2 separate regions of the Homo sapiens genome follow, and region 2 is linked to region 1. The links are contacts of gene promoters, found by promoter capture Hi-C in blood cells and fetal thymus (Javierre and others, 2016). All regions are on one chromosome and are shown on one strand. The core of a region is centred on a gene start or on the middle of the fragment in contact, and the rest is flanking DNA. Distances in the headings are between cores, read along the strand shown. Region 1 holds the start of RAF1 (Raf-1 proto-oncogene, serine/threonine kinase). Region 2 holds the start of XPC (XPC complex subunit, DNA damage recognition and repair factor).

What was found. Contacts are between HindIII fragments. The CHiCAGO score rates a contact against its expected background, and 5 or more counts as called.
Region 2: a contact is called between the fragment with the promoter of XPC here and the fragment with the promoter of RAF1 in region 1, in 1 of 17 cell types (total B cells). The highest score is 6.2, in total B cells.

Annotation. Positions count from the first base shown.
Region 1 is chr3:12,662,778-12,665,624 of GRCh38, reverse strand. It overlaps RAF1 (Raf-1 proto-oncogene, serine/threonine kinase), which reads left to right and starts at 1,508. Exons shown (of 17, transcript NM_002880.4): 1 at 1,508-1,812. RefSeq lists enhancers at 1,133-1,202, 1,243-1,592, 1,204-1,815, 1,816-2,426 and a silencer at 1,783-2,002. The HindIII fragment of the contact is 11,087 bases long and covers 1-2,847 here.
Region 2 is chr3:14,177,210-14,180,056 of GRCh38, reverse strand. It overlaps XPC (XPC complex subunit, DNA damage recognition and repair factor), which reads left to right and starts at 1,456. Exons shown (of 16, transcript NM_004628.5): 1 at 1,456-1,591. The coding sequence starts at 1,489. LSM3 (LSM3 homolog, U6 small nuclear RNA and mRNA degradation associated) reads right to left here and starts at 1,240. Exons shown (of 4, transcript NM_014463.3): 1 at 1,176-1,240. The coding sequence starts at 1,196. RefSeq lists enhancers at 1,147-1,196, 1,297-1,646 and a silencer at 1,697-1,816. The HindIII fragment of the contact is 5,126 bases long and covers 616-2,847 here.

The DNA of each region.
Region 1 (2,847 bases), core at 259-2,758:
TGTTTTGTATTTTTTAGCAGAGACAGGTTTCACCATGTTGGCCAGGCTGGTCTCAAACTCATGACCTCAAGTGATCTGCCCGCCTCGGCCTCCCAAAGTGCTGGGATTACAGGCGTGAGCCACCACGCCCAGCCATGTCTTTTTTTTTTTTTTTTTTGAGACAAGAGTTTCGCTCTTGTTGCCCAGGCTGGAGTGCAATGACGCGATTTCGGCTCACCGCAATCTCCGCCTCCTGGGTACAAGCAATTCTCCTGCCTTAGCCTCCCGAGTAGATGGGATGACAGGCATGCACCACCATGCCCAGCTAATTTGGTATTTTTATTTTTTTATATTTATTTATTTTTTCGAGACGGAGTCTCGCTCTGTCGCCCAGGCTGGAGTGTAATGGTGCGATCTGGGCTCACTGCAACCTCTGCCTCCCGGGTTCAAGCGATTCTCCTGTCTCAGCCTCCTGAGTAGCTGGGATTACAGGCGCCCGCCACCACGCCCGGCTAATTTTTGTATTTTTAGTAGAGACGGGGTTTCTCCATGTTGGTCAGGCTGGTCTCGAACTCCCGACCTCAGGTGATCCGCCTGCCTCGGCCTTCCAAAGTGCTGGGATTACAGGAGTAATCCCAAAAAAAGCGCCGGGCCCTTTTTTTGTTGTTTTTTAAATTCAGTAACTATCTAGTTCATTCTTGGATGGATGACAACCCAGATTGGATGTGTAGCAGCGTTCTCTTAACCAGTTTCCTATTAATCTTCATTTCATCCCCAGTGTTTCTCCAGAATGCAAATAATATGGCATTAAATATCTTCACACATAGCTTTTTGTGTATGTGTATACTTATTTCTCTAGAATTAGTGTCTAGAAGTGAAACTGCCGGGAGGAAGGATATATACTTTTAACATGTCCAAGTTCCACTGTGATAGCGCTGCGAGGGCACACAACAGGTTTCAATATACCTTGGACCAAACCGGATATTATCAGTTTTTTTAACTTGTTGCTAATGTGATGGGGGAAAAATGAACTCGGAATTTACACACAAGGAAAAGACCGTTTAAGGTTCAGGGACTGTCCACATAGCTGTCAAGTGGCGGAGCCGTGATTTGGTATTAAAGTGCCCGGAGAGGACGCGTCAAAGTTGGACACTGTGCCCTGTGTCCTGAGGCACGTCTGGTGATCGCTGGGCCTTGCAATGCTGGGCAGGCAGGCCTTCCTCTCCCCTTCTAGGCCTCTGGCCACTCCTGGCTGGCCGAAAGCCGGTTCTTCTCGATTACCGAGTGCCTCTCCTGAAAGCAAGTCAGCGTCGCCTAACCTCTTCAGCTTCGAAATGGCGGCCACCAGATCGCTAGGCCACGCCCCGGGGGCGGGGCCTGAGTTCAGGCCAGAGCGATGGATGCCCGAGCCAAGTTAGAAGTCGACTGCCAGTAGGGCTCGCGCAGAATCGGAGAGCCGGTGGCGTCGCAGGTCGGGAGGACGAGCACCGAGTCGAGGGCTCGCTCGTCTGGGCCGCCCGAGAGTCTTAATCGCGGGCGCTTGGGCCGCCATCTTAGATGGCGGGAGTAAGAGGAAAACGATTGTGAGGCGGGAACGGCTTTCTGCTGCCTTTTTTGGGCCCCGAAAAGGGTCAGCTGGCCGGGCTTTGGGGCGCGTGCCCTGAGGCGCGGAGCGCGTTTGCTACGATGCGGGGGCTGCTCGGGGCTCCGTCCCCTGGGCTGGGGACGCGCCGAATGTGACCGCCTCCCGCTCCCTCACCCGCCGCGGGGAGGAGGAGCGGGCGAGAAGCTGCCGCCGAACGACAGGACGTTGGGGCGGCCTGGCTCCCTCAGGTAGGTGGCAGGACCGGGTCGTGGATGCCGGGGGAGCCGGGCGGCGGGGCTGAGGGATCGGCTTCCAGGGCGACCGGGCCTGGGTGGCGCTGATGGAGCGGCCCCGCGGCTGCCGGGCAGAGGGCTTGGGCCAGGCCGTTGTCACCCTGGGGTAGCGTTGGGCGGGGGCCCCGGAGTCCGGTGTCATGGCCGGCGAGCCGAGTTCCCACATCCCACTCAAATTTCCTTGTGTTTGGCGGAAACGTGCCAACGCCACCCTTATGCCATGCGCATTCCTCATATTTGGCAGTGGGAAAATCCGCCCAGAGCTGCCCCATATCTGTTGTCACTTGGATGGGCCAATTCCTTTTCTCTTGGGCCGCCGAATGTGGGACCCGGGCTTGCACCCTTTCTCAGGGTACTTCAGTCAAGTGACACCCTTTTAGAGACGACGTGAGGAATCGGGTAAGAGAGGAGGAAACTGGCCAGTGCCCTACCACAAAGGCACAGGGGCCTCTTCTTGGGTATCAGGACTAGCCTTGGGTATCAGGACTCTGGGTTATTAATGAAAGGTTTGGGATACTTATAGAGGATTGGCCTCAGGACGCTTTGGAATGAAGAGCCAGGGCTGTCTTTTGTGTGACGCGAGAGCCGCCGGGACGCTTCAGCTCTGCAGCTGCTGAGGCTCTGCGAGCGAGTCGATGCCCAAGAGAGAGGGGTTTGGACGTCGTGAGAGGCGAGGCGGCCGTGTTCATTCATTGTTCTCGTTCTAGGGCTCTGGGTGTGCCCCTGGTATTCATTCTGTGGTGGGAAGAAGGAATGGAACTTAGTGTATCCTTGAGATGTGAACGGGTTCTAGGGGGTCACTTAATCTAAGTGGAAAATGAATTCAAGGCACGTTCATTGAGCGTTTCTGCTTGCCTGGTCCTCTGTGGGCTGAGTGGAGAGACTCTGCCCTCCCTGCGCTCCTAAGGCGTGAAAACAATGCAGTGTGATAAGAATTGGCTTATCAAGTGTTATGGGGATTTAGAACAGTTAGTTTTGCTTGGGGAGGAG
Region 2 (2,847 bases), core at 207-2,706, 1.5 Mb before region 1:
TGATGAGAGAAAAAAATAACCTAACTCAACTGGTCCCTATGTCCCTCAGTTCAACAAGTGTTTGTTAAAGGATCAGATAACCAACTGTTAGATTACAATGATAGAGAAGTCACAATCCCCACCCTCAAGGAGCTCATTCTACTGTGGAGAGGCATACAAATAATTATAATACTGTAAGAATATGCACATGAAAAAGCCCTACTGCTACCTAAGCCTCTGTCTGGGATGCCCACTGTCTGCTCTTTTCATCCTGTAGCTTTAAATATTGGCTTCTCAAAGAGGCTTCCTCTGATCATCTAACTCATTCACTCAAATATTTTTTGAGTGTTTCCAGCACTGTTCTAAACCCCAAAGACAAAAGAATGAACAAAACAAAATCCCTGCTCTTATGGCATTTACATTCTAGTGGGGAGAGATTCACATTAAACAAAGATGCATACATTTAATATGAAAAAATAACTCTCTATGAAGAAAAATGAGGCAGGGTAACCAGAGTAGCGGGAGTGCTATTTGGGCAGAAGTCCTCTCTGAGGAGGTCAGATTTCAGTAGAAAGTTTAAGTTGTGGCATGATCTCCAAAGATATTTGAGGAAGAAAAAGACCAGGTGAAAAAGCTTCTAGGACCATCTGTTATTCTGCATACCAGTTCCTTGTTTCCTTCACAGCACATCACAGTTCCTGGAAGTCTTACATATTTATATTTACTTTTATCTGTTCTCCTCGCAAATATAAGCTCCAAGTAATGGCAAGGATCTCTTATATGTCGATGTCAGTGTCCCTGGCCCTTAGAACAGTGCCTAACCATACAAAGCTGATGTTCACTCTATCTGCTGAATGAATAAATAATTGTTGCGCTCACTAATGATAACAACTCCTAACTTTATTACCTGGCTTTCTATTGGAATCCTGACAGCTCCATGAGGTAGCTAAGGATAATAATCTACAGATTTAAAAAAATGAAGCGAAGAGTGTGAGAATAGTCATCAGGTGGGCTTCTAACAGGAAAAGGTCTCAGGGCCTACGGCAAAATTCGGAGGGGGGGTTACGGAAAGGACAGGGTGGATTAGGCCATGGTGACTTGGAGAGAGGAGGCACGACTGGCCATTTTTCCTGAGTCTGGAAAAAGCAGCCTAGTACAAGAAGCTCCTTCGAGCGACCTCCTTAAAATACACTTACCTGGTCTACGTCGTCCGCCATGTTTCAAACCCTGCGCCCTTTCCCGCCTCTCGCGAGAACACAAGAGCAACGTCAATCTCCGGAAACGTGAGGATACAATACACCGGAAATAGAGAGAAACCTGTTGTGCTCTTTCCTGCTTCCCGCAGTTTTTTAGTGGCCACGGGTATGGGGTGGAGCTTCCTTTAGGGGCGTGACTAGGCCTCCAACGAAGGGGCGTGGCCAAGCGCACCGCCTCGGGGCGGGGCCGGCGTTCTAGCGCATCGCGGCCGGGTGCGTCACTCGCGAAGTGGAATTTGCCCAGACAAGCAACATGGCTCGGAAACGCGCGGCCGGCGGGGAGCCGCGGGGACGCGAACTGCGCAGCCAGAAATCCAAGGCCAAGAGCAAGGCCCGGCGTGAGGAGGAGGAGGAGGGTGAGAGCGAGGCCCAGCGGGCTTCGCGGGAGACGCCGCCGGTGGGCGGAGGAGGCCCAGAGGCAGGGCGGGAGTCCAGACGCGGAGGCCTGGTGGAGGTTGCTGCGCGCGTTCCGCGCCGTGGGGGCAGCCCGGCAGGCTGCGGCCGGCCCTCCCCGCTGTCCCCGCGTCTTTGTCCTGCGCACCCAGAGCGGTTTCCCGCGAGCTTCGCCCGATCCAAGCTCCTGCGTAGCTTTTTTCCCGCTCCCCGTTGTCCAGAGGATACAGATGTTCAGGGTTGAACTCGGAGAAGGCAGTTATTTGTGTCCCAGGAAGACAGACGGACGGACCAGGACGTAGAGTGATGCAGTGTGCTGACTCCCGAATGATAACTTCAGCTGAGTCTCACCCAGAGTTCCACAGTGGGATCCCACCTGACTTCCCCTCATGGATATTTGATAGGCTTCTTACATTTGTCATGGGCAATGCAGAACTCATGGTTTTCCTCTTTAAATCTATGCTTTCCTCCGTTTTTCCAGTCTCAATACTTGTTATAAAGCAAAGCCCACCTTTTTCTTATGTCCACACATCCAGTCCGTCAGCAAGTCCAGTCAGTTCAGCCTCAAGAGTGTATTTCAAATTTGTCCACTTCTCTTCATTTCCATGACCACAGCCCCTGTCCAAGTCATCATCACCTTTCAGTTGAGTGACTGCAGTTTCCTCTTTACTGGCCTCCCAGCTCTGCATCCAGCAACCCAAATAATCTTAAAAAAAAAAAAAATCATGCCCTGCTCCTGCTTTAAACTCCCCTTGGTTTTCCATTGCTCTTAGCTTAAAATCCAGTTGTTTTATCCTGGCCTACAAGATACTACATGTTTTGGCTCTTGCTACCTCTCCTGTTTCTCTTACCACTTGTTTCCTTGCCAGATACCCTCCTTATTGGCCTCCTTTCTCTTCCTCAAATATGCCAAGTTATTCCTTGAGTCTTTTCCTTTGATGTTCCTTCTGCCTAGAGTGAACCCCCCATGGCTTTTACCAGGGCTGATTTTTTCTATTTCTTCAAAACTCAAGTTAGACATTCCTTGAGCAAACTAAGGTGGTCCTTCCCAGATACCCCGCGGATACTAAAACCTGTGATGCTCAAGTACCTTATATCAAATGGCCTAGTGTTTCCATGTAACCTATGCACATCCTCCGACATACTTTAAATCATCTCTAGATCACTAATAATACCTAATACAATGTGGATACTATGGAAATAGTTGTCATGCTGTATT